2 separate regions of the Homo sapiens genome follow, and region 1 is linked to region 2. Evidence: promoter capture Hi-C in human tissues and cell types (Jung and others, 2019). All regions are on one chromosome and are shown on one strand. Each heading gives the region's core, a stretch centred on a gene start or on the middle of the fragment in contact. The rest is flanking DNA. Distances are from core to core; before and after follow the strand shown.

Evidence for each region. Contacts are between HindIII fragments. The study calls those that stand out against the background at their distance.
Region 1: a fragment that was not itself captured here is called in contact with the fragment with the promoter of SLC31A2 in region 2 in 2 of the 25 tissues and cell types used here (adrenal gland and heart right ventricle).

What each region holds. Positions count from the first base shown.
Region 1 is chr9:112,426,453-112,432,743 of GRCh38, reverse strand. The region is part of intron 6 of HSDL2 (hydroxysteroid dehydrogenase like 2); the gene reads right to left. Among named protein-coding and RNA genes, the nearest start is that of HSDL2, 49 kb to the right of the region's middle. The HindIII fragment of the contact is 3,172 bases long and covers 894-4,065 here.
Region 2 is chr9:113,149,757-113,156,480 of GRCh38, reverse strand. SLC31A2 (solute carrier family 31 member 2) reads right to left here and starts at 5,474. Exons shown (of 4, transcript NM_001860.3): 1 at 5,401-5,474. The coding sequence starts at 5,406. RefSeq lists an enhancer at 258-552. The HindIII fragment of the contact is 13,784 bases long and covers 252-6,724 here.

The DNA.
Region 1 (6,291 bases), core at 1,230-3,729, 720 kb after region 2:
CATGCACCACAAGGAACATGACTGTAAATTGGATTTAGTGTGTCATCAAGTCTAGGACCAAATAACATCACTGGCTCCAAGATGTCTAGTAAACCTTCTAAAATGAATATCTTGAAGCTAAAGCAAAGATCTCAGCAATGAGCTGATTTTTCCTGCTGGACCAGATAATGCCCTCTATATTCCCTGATACAGAACATTCTGCCTATTATATAAGCTTTGTCCAGAATATATTTTGGAGCTAGGCAGAAGGTAATCATATTGCACATTCATTCACTCATTTACTCACTCATCAAATATTTATTGAATGTCTACAATGACTATAATAAAACAAACAAAGCAAACACTGTCCCTATCCTCAAGAAGTTTTCATTCTAGCAAAGAAGACACTGAACAACCATAATTATAAATTAATAATTACAAACGGTGTAAGTGATGTGAAGGGGATGTACAGACTACTAAACCTGACGATCAGTCCCATTTTGTAAGAACTATCAGCATAATCTGACACAATTGATCACTCCCTGTATTAGTCTGTTCTCGCATTACTATAAAGAAATACCTAGGCTCGGCACAGTGGCTCACACCTGTAATCCCAGCACTTTGGGAGGCCTAGGTGGGTGGATCACCTGAGGTCAGGAGTTCAAGACCAGACTGGTCAACATGGTGAAACCCCGTCACTACTAATAATACAAAAAAATTAGCCAGGTGTGGTGGCGCACGCCTGTAATCCCAGCTACTCAAGAGGCTGAGGCAGGAGAATCGCTTGAACCTGGGAGGCGGAGGTTGCAGTGAGCTGAGATCGCACCACTGCACTCCAGTCCAGCCTGGGCAACAGAGCAAGACTCCGTCTCAAAAAAAAAAAAAAAAAAGAAAGAAATACCTGAGACTGGGTAATTTATAAAAGAGGTTTAACTGGCTCACAGTTCTGCATGCTGTACAAGCATGGCTCCAACATCACTTGGCTTCTGGGGAGGCCTTGGGGAGCTTGTACTCACGGTGGAAGGTGAAGAGGGAGCAGGCACGTCACATGGCAAAAGCAGGAACAAGAGAGCCAGGTGGTGTGCTACACACTTTTAAAAACGAGATGAGAACTCACTCACTATGGTGAGGGCAGTACCAAGGAGGATGGTGCTAAACCGTTCAGGAGAAAGCTGCCCCCATGATCCAATCACCTCCCACCAGACCCCACCTCCAACACTGGGGGTGACATTTTGACATGAGATTTGGGTGGAGACAACATCCAAACTGTATCACTCCCCAAGCTCCTTCTTCAGTCGGCTTTCATCTCCTCTTTCATCTTCCTTTCATCTTCCTACCTTACTCTCCTATGTGGGTCTTCCTCTTCTTCCCAACCTTTCAATGTTGAAATGGACAATAGTCCTTTCTCTTCTACTCACTGCCTAGATGGTATCATGTAGTTTTGTGGCTTTTTATATGTTCTATATGCTGATAACCCACAGATTTTTTTATCTCCAACCTGGACCGCTCTCCTGACCCTCATTCACCAGGCCTGCTGCCTAATGACTGTCCCCACTTGGATGTTCAAACACAACACCCCACACAATTCCTAAGCTTGCCCTCCATCTGCTCTATCTGCAGCTTTCTCCATCTCAGTTCCTGGCGACTCCACTGTTCTAGTAACTCAAGCCAGAAATCTTTATTTTTTTTAAATTTTTTTTTTTTTTTTTTTTTGAGTTGGAATCTCACTCTGTCACCCAGGCTGGAGTGCACTGGCGTGATCTCGGCTCACTGTAACCTCCACCTCCCGGGTTCAAGCAATTCTTCTGCCTCAGCCTCCTGAGTGGATGGGACTACAGGCACGCGTCACCATGCCAGGCTAATTTTTTGTTTTTAGTACAGATGGGGTTTCACCATGTTGGCCAGGCTGGTCTCGAACTCTTGACCTCAGGTGATTCACCCACCTGGGCCTCCCCAAAGTGCTGGGATTACAGATGCGAGCCACCGCACCAGGCTATTTTCCAGAAATCTTGGAGTCACTGTTGACTCTTTCTCTCACATCCCAAAGGCAATCCATCAGCAGATACTGTTGGTTCTACCTTGAAAATATATCAGAATCTGGCCACTGTCCACCACCTTTACTGCTGTCATCCTGGTCACAGCCACCAAAATCTGTGCCTCAGTTCCTGCAATAGCCTCCTAACTGTTCCCCCCTTTGCCCCTCAAGAATCTAGGCTCATCAGAACAGCCAGAGAGGTTTTTTAAACATTTAGGTTTGATCAGGTCCCTTCTCTGCTTGAAAACCTGAAACAGCTCCTCATTTCACCCAGAGTAATCTAAGACCAAGTCTTGGCAAGGGCCTATAACATCTGACCCCCATTTCCTTATGGACATCGTCTCATTTTCTACTCCTCTTCCCTCACTCTGGCGACACTGGTCTTCTCCCTGCTCTTGCATCATGCCAGCCATACTAGTCCACAGGACCTATCCACTGCTGCTTCCTCTGCCTTGCATGTTTTCCCTCAGATAACCTTTGGCTAACTGTATTACCCCCAAGACTAACGGTATGCTCAAATGTCAAAGTCTATGCTCAAACGTCACCTTCTCAGAAAGGCCAAACCTACCTTCCCTGGTGGTCTGACGGTTAGGACTTGGCACTCTCAGAAAGGCCAAACATCTCTTTTCTTTCTTTTTTTTTTTTTGAGATAGGGTTTAACTCTGTTGCCCAGGCTGGAGTGCAGTGGTATGATCACGGCTCACTGCAGCCTTGAACTCCTAAGGCTCAGGTGATCCTCCTGCCTCAGCCCCCTGAGTAGTTGGGACGACAGGCGCACACCACCACACCCTGCTACTTTTTGTAGATATGGAGTTCTGCCATGTTGCTCAGGCTGGTCTCGAACTCCTGGGCTCCAGCGATCGGCCTGCTTTGACCTCCCAAAGTGTTGGGATTACAAGCAGGAGCCAACACTCCTGGCCTAATGCCAAACCTTTCTACTCTATTTTAAATTGCCACCTTCCTTCCTCAATGGCTGAGACTCCAATCCCCCTTCCTTTGTTCTGTTTTTCATAGCATATTACCTTTAGCATACTATATACTTTGCCATTCATCATGTTGTCTATTGTATCTCTCCCAATTAGACTATAAGTTCCATAAGGACAGCGATTGATATCTCTTTTGTTCTCTGATGTATCTTCAGCAAACAGAGCACAGCTTGGCATAAAATAAGTGTCCGATGAATGTTTATTGTATGAATAAAATTTAAAATTCTTAAGAGTCAAAGAAGGCTTTTTCTGACTTTGTTACCCCAGGATCCCAAAGACCTACAGGTTAGGGAAGTAGAGGAAAGGGCAGAGGGGAGGACAAAGTACAAATGGTGGTAACAAACTCTTAAATCTCCCACACTAAATGGTAAACTCCTTGAGGGTAAGGATTGTGTCACATTCATCTTAGTACCCATGTTGCCTTGCACCGAGTAGATAGTTAATAAATTATCTGTCAAATGCATAACAACTGAATAGTGCAGAGAACTGTGCCTGGCATGTAAGAATGAATGTTTGGAAAATGAATGAATGTAAAGTGAGAAGTCAGCTGGGCACAGTGGCTCATGCCTGTAATCCCCGCACCTTTGGAGGCTAAGGCAGGCAGATCTCCTAAGGTCAGGAGTTCAAGATTAGCCTGGCCAACATGGTGAAACCCCATCTCTACTAAAAATACAAAAATTAGCTGGGCATGGTGGCCTGCGCCTGAAATCCCAGCTACTTGGGAGGCTGTGGCCTGAGAATCGCTTGAACCTGGGAGGCAGAGGTTGCAGTGAGCCAAGATCGCACCACTGCACTCCAGCCTGGGCAACAGAGCAAGACTGTCTCAAAAATCAAAAAAGAAAGTGACAAGTAACATAAGGGAGGTACAAAGAGGGAAAATAATATGTTAGAACTTTGTTACCTCAGAGACCTCCCTTTTTAACTTCCTAACTCTCTGTATCAACTTTAATGACAACAGTGATGTGAGGAAGGGTAATTGAGAAAGGGTGAGAAAAGGCAAAGAAGTTGAAAAAGAGAGGCACCATAAAGTGTAAGCTTTTAAGTTTTTTGGCTGTGACCCATAATAAGTAACATTTTCATATATGAAACAAAAGCTTATGAAACAATACTGACCCTTCCTCCATGCAATCCACTCTAATATTTTCTATTCGATTCCACTAGAAATAAAACAAAACAACAACAAAACAACTCTGGCTGCTACTCACTAAATCAATTTCACAATCCACTAAATTGATTTCATGCCTCACCAACGAGTCTTGACATATAGTTTGAGAAATATTGAAGAAGTGCCTTTTTCACTCTCATCTTTTTCCCCACTGCAAAAAACAACACTCTTCAGAAAATCTTAAAAGAATTGTCTGCTACAGAAACATAAAGGAAACAAAGAAGCAATAAAACATGGTTTTGGTCCCACAGTGAGGACCAGGGAAGAAAGGAGTCTTGGTCAAATTGCAGAAGAAAGGAATTTAACCAAACTGATTCCTGGACTACTTAGAAGAAAAAGAAAGATGGTGATTGGAAAGCTGGCTGCAACTGTCAAATATTCCTAAGAGTTACCTCAGCAGCATGCCCCAGTACTCAGTAAATTCTCACCCATAGTCCTTTGTTTCCCATCGTCTACACCACAGGCCACAGAATCTTCAGTACTGCTTGGAGCCGGGGAACTCCCTTTATCCAGTACATAGCAGATAGGAAGCAACTCTGGATATGTTCCACACAGCTATATGCGGCAGTTCAGTTCAAGAGTACCACCAGGGCTTTAATAATACTTTGCATAAATGCTGGATTAAATATGCTTTTAAAACCTAACTTCTACCAACCTAGACATACACTAGGTAAAAAGGCCAAAGAAGTATCCCCAATACCCATGTCTGCTGCGTGATAACTGTCCAATCAATAGTTGTTGGATGATGAATGAATAAATAAAATAATGCCAGAAGAAAGAAGAATGGGAATAAACAATATACTAATATAAGGGTCCTTACAGGATATAGAAAGATGTTAAATGATACGACTGGGAGAATCAGGAAAATCTGGAATGACAGAACTCCTATAAGATAAACGACCTGGTTTTTCAAGAAATAAGTGGCAAGAAAAAAAATGAGTGTAACTGCTTTAGATTAAAAACACTTGAGACTTATCAAACAAATGCAATGTATGGAACAATTTAGATCCTGATGTAAATAAACCAACTGCAAAGAAAACATTTATGAGACACTTGAGGGAATTTGAACACTGACTAGATATTAGATGATATTAAGGTATGTTTGTTAGCTATGATAATAATTTTGTCTTTTTAAAGAGACCGAATCATTTAAAAATACATATTGAAGTATGTACAGATGAAATGATGCTATGATTGAGATCTGCTTAAAAATAATGTGGCGAGGGCCAGGCGCATTGGCTCAGGCCTGTAATCCCAGCACTTTGGGAGGCCGAGGCGGGTGGATCACTTGAGGTCAGGAGTCCGAGACCAGCCTGGCCAACATGGCAAAACACCCTCTCTACTAAAGATACAAAAATTAGCCGGGCACAGCGGTGGGCGCCTATAATCCCAGCTACTCGGGAGGCTGGGGCAGGAGAATCACTTAAACCTGGGAGGTGGAGGCTGCAGTGGGCTGAGATCGTGCCACTGCACTCCAGCCTGGGTGACAGAGTGAGACTCTGCCTCGAAAAAATAATTAATCAATTAATTAATTAATTAATAATATAATAATAATCTGGTGAGGTTAGAAGTGGAGTTAAAGGGAGATGGAGATGTGAGGGCTGGTAAAACTAGATTGGCCATGTGGTGAAATCGCTGAAGCGGAATAGTACGTGATGTACTACTCTCCCTACTTGTATACATGTTTGTACATATGTTTGACTTTTTTCATAATTAAAAGTTTGAAAAATATGCAACAAAGGGCTTTAGAGGTTATTTATAATACCTAATTTTATATAAGGGGAAGCTAGGTACAGACAGCTACTGCAGCTCACACAGCTAAGAAGAATATGTGCAATACAGAAACTTAATTATTTTTATTTTTTCGAGGGACTGGTTCTTTATTTCATAAAGACACTTGTCAATATTCAGTATCAAAACTGCTGCACTATCGATTTTTCTTTCTCCCAGTTGGCCCCAAAGAGACCACATCACAGGCTAGTACATTTTAAACCAATAAGCTGCAGGATGTACACCTAACAGACTGCATAGAAACCTTGCCAGGGCAAGGAGCAGTGGCTCATGCCTATAATCCCAGCACTTTGGGAGACCAAGGCGGGTGGATCACCTGAGGTCAGGAGTTTGAG
Region 2 (6,724 bases), core at 4,225-6,724:
TTCACCAGGGAACACCAGCCAATTAAAATCTTTCTTCTAATTCCATTATGTAAAACACGGGGCTCAGGGTGGAGAGGGGAGAGAAATATGAGCTCTGATGAAACTCAGTTTGAAAAATGCTGATCTGGCCCAACTTGAGTCCCTCTCCACCCCCTCTCATTTCCAGGTGAGGAAAATGAGTATGAAGAGGGAAAAGGATTTGCCGGACCTCCTTATAAGCGGGTTACTCTCAGTTTCTGTTCAAGGGAGGAAGATATGGAGTGAGACTGTGGGTACTTGTGAAGGCTGTGGGGGCCATCAGTTCTTACAGAAAAGGAGTTCCGGTGGAGGCAAACGTCAGTGTGGGGGTGGAAAGGTAGGCAGATTTGATTAGCTGCCATTTTGTCAGGAAGCTGTGCCATGTGGGTGTCCTGTAGCCTCCTGGAAACCAGAGCCACAAACTTCTGCTTGCAGACGACAGCCCTAAACCACAGGCCTTGCATGTTCTAGTCGTCTCCAATCCTCCCCCTCTCAACAGTTAGGACCAAAGGAGATAGTAAAGAATAGTAGTCTGAGTCCAGGATTTGGAACAAAACACATTTGTTAACCAGGGCCTCTCTCTGGCCTCAGTTTCCTCCGAGGGGAGCTGGGGGAAAACTCTGCAAAGCCATCCACACAAAGTGACACACAGTAAGGGCTCAATAACCCCAGTGCCTTTTTTTCCCATACATGTCAAAGCTGGAGGGGTGTTTCTCAGAAGTGTTCCATGGGAGAAGTACAGGATGCTAGGAGGTACTGGGAAAAATGGATTCTATGGTCAAGGGAGTTTGAGAGAGACTGGAATTAGACAAAATAAGGTTTAATAGCTTTCTGCACTGCCAGAAGCCTGTACCCAGAACTCTCTCCTCCCCTTTTTCTCTTGCTGAGTGCCCTGTGGGAAAGAATCTCATAGACTATCCTCTAGGAAGTGCTAATTTAGAGCAACCCTCTTTTTTCATGCTGGGAGGGAAATGACACTGATTATTCTGTGCCAGGCACTCTTCTAAAAATGTTATATGTCTTAACTCACTCAATTTCAAGAGGGGAATTATTATTCTTAGCTCCATTTCATAGATGAGACTACTAAGGCAGACAGAGTTTAAGTAACTTGCCAAGTTGCTAGCTAGAATTTTGCCTGGGTGGGCTGGTTTCAGATTCTGTGCTCCTAACTGCTCTCAATGCAGCTTCTCAGGGCAGCACTGGAAGTCCAAGGGGCAGCTGTGACATGCCCAGGGTCACACTGTGAGTTGGTGGCAGCATCAGGACTGGATCCTGGGTCTTCTTACCAGGCCCTCATTTGGCAAGAGGAAAACAGATGCTACAACACAGAGAACAGCCCACTTTCTTGTGCAATACTAGACAGAGATGAGGGCTGTGCTGTCGTTCGGTTGTTTTAACATTTCAGGAAGATATGCAAACAGCAGAAGAAACTGATATGGCCACTTTGGAACAAAATATGGGAAGAAATTGGGGAGAGGAAGGAATGTATGAGAAAAAGCCTCTGTGCAATTAGGATAGTCATGCTTAGCCCCCGAAGGATGTTCAGCCAATAGCTGGCCCATATTTCCTGAGAAAGATGAAGAGTGCACCTTAAATAAAGGAAACAAACAAGGACCAGTCTGGGGATGGGACAGTAAGACCAGAGCCCAGGGACAACAGCGGACAACAGGATGAAAAGGCAAAGAGGATAGGGTGGGAGGGAGGACACTGGAGCGGATCACAGGTGTGGATGACGATGCTGTTATAGCCGGATCCACAGAGGCAGAGTCAGTCCCGGGTGAATCACTGGGAAACCACAGGCCAATCATGAGCTCCACACTGGCAAGCGGCTTAGTGTAGAGGGACAGCAGCAGCTGCTTAGACTCCAGGGCCTTATTAAAAGTACAGATTCCTGGGCCTCCTCAGGCCCCTAAATCAGAGTCCAGGGTCAGAGCCACAGGAGACAGGGAAGACATAGATTTTAACCAGCCCCCTTCAGGAGATTCTGAGGCTCAGTTCACTTTGTTGCAGTTTGAACAGAGGCAGCAAGGCTAGTGGTTAGGGGCACGGTCTCTAAAGCTGCACTGCCTGGATCTCCCTCCCAGCTCTGCCAGGAACCAGCTGCGTGGCCTTGAGCTGCTGACACGCAGAAAGCCCCCTGTGGACCCAGTCTCCTCGTCTGTAAGATGAGGACAGGACTCTAGGAACCCTTTCCCTTGGTTTGGCCTCACTTTCACAGGCTCCCATCTTGAACTCTATCTACTCTTCCTGAAACCTTGTAAAAGAAAAAAGTGCTAGCCTGGGCAACATGGCAAAACCCTGTCTCTACAAAAAATACAAAAATTAGTTGGGTGTGGTGGCATGTGCCTGTAGTCCCAGCTACTTGGGAGGTGCTGAGGTGGGAGGATCACTTGAGCCCGGGAGGTGGAGGTTGCAGTGAGCCAAGATCATGCCACTGCACTCCAGCCTGAGTAATAGAGTAAGACTCTGTCTCAAAAACAACAACAATAACAGTGAGTGTGCCTCTGTTTCCGGGTTGGATGGGGCACCACATCTATGCATCTCTCAGATTTGGACGCTGCAGCCTGGGGTTTGGTAGAGACCTGGGACTAACCTGGCTGTTCTACTCCCTACACTCAGCTAACATGCCTTTCAGTGCCAAAAGGGGTCTGACTTGTGTCACCAACCCCTGCCTGCGCCTACCCAGGGACTGGGCTCACTGGAGACCGTGGAGCTGCAGGACAGAGAAAGAAATGTGAAAGCATCTGATTGGACAGAACAGCCACACAGCTCTGTGTCTTCTGAGGGACTGCATGTGCCTGTACCACGTTCACCTTCCATTTATTATGTGTCACTCCCTGTGACATCTCCGCAGGTGCCTACTATTATTAACCTCTTTAACAAGGAAGGTACATAAAAGCCCACTTATCTCCCCATGGTCACTCGGCAATCAGGTACCCAGAGCCAGAGAGTTTTCTGGAAAGCCTGTACTGGTTCTCAAACCTTAGTGTACTGGGTGTTTCTGGGACAGGTGTTTCTAGGACAGGTGTTTGTTGGGGGTCACACTTTGAGAAATCATAGGAACCATGATGGTCTCCTGTCAACCAGTAGGGACTGGTCAAGTAAATTATATGAGAGCTTCAAAATGGAAATCTAGGCGGTCACATCACAACATGATAAAGATCATGTTGAAGACTTTAAAAAATGTTGAAGAGTTTAAAAATAAGAATAGCTTTTACCCCCCACCCCCAATGGCACTAGCTCAATGTAAAAAGCTGACACAGTACCGAAAAGAAAGTAAAAAATCATTTTGAGTCTTACTACTCAGAGATCTCTCCTGTTAGGCTTTCAAAAAAAAAAAAAACATTTTGACACAGCAAAATGTTTACGCAAGATTGATATACAAAACCAAACAGGTACAAACAATACTGTGAAACTCCATTTACACCGGAGATGGCCTCATCCTCAGCAGAAGCCTCTAGCACCATCTCTGCCAGGTAGAGGTAGGGGTGACACCCATCACCCCTTCTCTGAGTCCATTTGGTAAAGCAGATGGTATGAATGGAATGTCCCTAGTGGCTAATTAATCAGTCAGGGAGTTGCCATAACTGGTTTCCTTCTATCATCCTTGGGCCTGGGCCAGTTATCTTAGGAGCCCAAAACAGCCCAGACATGTTTTGCCATAGACCTGAACACCCACAGAACAGTAAGAGTAATTTGAAAGATTTCTTTTTGTTGTGCTAGGTCTGTGCAGACCCTGGCGATACAGAGATGAATGGGACAAGTCTTTGGCCCTTAGGGAGCTACCTGTCTATGAGGGGGGACATTTAAGTGAGCAAATAATTACAACAGGTTGTAGGTCAGAGAAAGGGAGGCACAGTGGAGGCTCCCTGGGGGTGCTGGGGACCAAGCCGCCTGAGAGACACCTGCCCTGGCCAGAGAGCAGTTGGCTAGGATGGTTCTGAAGCCAGAGAAGCAGGAGATAGCTGGGAAGATGAACTGTATGGTTTGTTCAGAGCTGGAAACACCCACGGAGTCCGAAGCCCCAGAGGGACGAAGACTCACCTGTCACTCAACCCTTTCTACTTTTGCCTTTTTGCTAGAGGAAAAGATGGAAGTCAGCACACCCTGACTTGAGAGAAGCGATCTGGGCTACAGTTTTCAATTAAAGGGCTTTGTGGTCAGATAGGCAAGGGGCAGGGCCCCAATCTTGTTTTCCTACTTGGGATGAATCTTGGCCTCTGAAAGTTTAACTGATTTGTGCTTTTTTCAGGGTGGGGCTGTGGTGAAGGAGGGAGCAATCCCTGGAACTTGTTTTCTTCTATATTTCTTCATTTGGGGTTACTTACACTTTGAGAAAAGCTTCCTTATTTGTAAACAAGGGTTGGGAAGGAGATGAAGGTCCCAGTTGCTAGGCTGACTGGCTGGGGAACTTTTGCAAGTGCTTTCCATCTATTTCCCTTTTTAAAGGACGGCTGATCATTTCACTAAATGGCCTACATACACTTCCTATATCTTTTTTTTTTTGTTTTGTTTGTTTGAGGACGTCTTGTTCTGTTGCCCAGGCCGAAGGTCATGGCTCACTGCAGCCTGGAACTTCTGGGCTCAAGCAATCCTCCTCATCCTGCCTCAGCCTCCGAGTAGCTGGGATTACAGGCGCCTGCCACCACTTGTGGCTAATTTTTGTAGAGACGGGGTCTAGCTATGTTGCCCAGGCTGAGCTTCCTGTATCTTAAATTCTATGACATTCTTCATGGGATGAAGAAAATGATATGACTTCTTCAAAGACGAACGAGTCTTGCAAGCTGTCGTTCTCTCCAGCCCAGGTGAACCCTACCAAGAAAAACAGCTTGTCTGAAACGCTGTTTTCTGACTGAAAGTGTAGGGAAGCTGGAAAGTAGCTGGTTCTGTTTTATTCCCCGAAGAATCAGGCTACAAACTTGACAAGAGCAGGGCCGGGGATGTGCGCTCGGTGTGCGCGCGGGGCTGCGGGCTGAAATGCGCCGGGGGTTTCCCTTTCGTGGAAGCCTTCCTGGAATCTCCCAAGGCGCTGCTCTCCGCCCTGGGGCGCCGGCCAGAGGTCCGGGGCCGGGGGCCCCGGACCCAGCTGTCTTCAGCCACCGCGCCCCCACTCTCAAGCCGCGCCACCGCGGGCGCTCGGTAACTGCTCGCCTAGCCGGACTGCCTCCCAGCAGGAGGGACAAATAAAGAGGAAAACCACAGAGCCACCGCAACCTATACCTGCCGCGTCCCCCAACCCTGTTCCAGCTGTTGGCAATGCTGCCAACACACCCTTCACCAGCCCCGGGCCAGCGGCAGCGAGGATTCGGGGTGCCGAGATGGCAGCTCCAGGAGACCCCGCCCCAACCGCCCACCCTCTTCACCGTAGCGCCCGGCCCTTACCGCCATGGTGAGTGCGCAGGGCGGGCGCCAGGGCCGCGTCTGCTCGCTCGGGTCTCCTCGCTCCGAGTCAGTTCAACCGCCGCCGCCGCCGCCGCCGCGATAGCTACCCTGGCCGCACGGATCACGTGGTCCGGGCGAGGCGGCGCGCGGGCGCCTGGGAGTTGTGGTCCCCACACGCGCCCTACTTCGGCGTCCTCGGGCGCGCCCCCTGGCCGAGACCCAGGCGCCTCGCCCCAGGTTCCCAAGGGCTGAGGCTTGGCGTTCCCGGAGTCGCGAGCGAGAGGGACCACCTGCTGCCCTCTGTCTTCGCCCTTCCTGTTTTGCACTTGGCTTGTCTTGGCGATTATGAGAATGTTTATTGCTCATTGTAATAAACTACCCCAAGCGTAACATATATTGAGTTGAAATGGGCAAGTCCGTGCTATGGACGCAATAGCAACACATTTGGAGTAAATTAAGTCAATTATGCCCTAGATTTTTAGTGTAGTCATTACAAGATAATTACATTTTTCTTTTTAGAAAAATATTTTCCAATCTGATAAGCCAAAAGGAATACACCCGTGTAATTTTGTTTTTCTTTGATTACTAGGGTAGTAAACTATTTTTCTTACGGGTACTTCCATTTCTGTGTATTGCCTGTTCATTTCACTGATCCAGTTTTTTGATGGGGAGTTTCTTGTAGGGTGAGGGATTTTTAATGGTTATTGATTCTTAAGCATATTTAGGAACCCTTTGCTAATCAGCCTATGAGTAAAGAGGCTCTTCAGAGAAACCTTACTAAGGACAGTATTAGCAGAGACCTTGAGCCTGGAGCTAACCTCAGTTCACATCCATACGCATCAACTATTGGCTTTGGGACCGTAGGCAAATAGCTTACATCTCTGAACCTCAGTTTTCTGGTCAGTAAAATGAAAATAATAATAAAATCTATGTCATAGGGATTAAATGAAAACATACATGTTAAATTATCATGTAACCTGGCAGTGGGAGCTTGTTCAGTAAATGGTAGAATCCTCAGGGTCACACAGCTTTTTTTCTTTTCTTTGAAACAGAGTCTCGCTCTGTCGCCCAGGCTGTAGTGCAGTGGCGCGATCTTGGCTCACTGCAACCTCCATCTCCCGTGTTCAAGCAATTCTCCTGCCTCAGGCTCCCGAGTAGCTGGGACTACAGGCGCGCACCACCATGCCTGGTTAATTTTTGTATTGTTAGTAGAGACGGGGTTTCACCATATTGGTCAGGCTGGTCTTGAAATCCTGACCTCGTAATCTGCCCGCCTCGGCCTCCCAAAGTGCTGGGATGCTGGGATTACAGACGTGAGCCATCT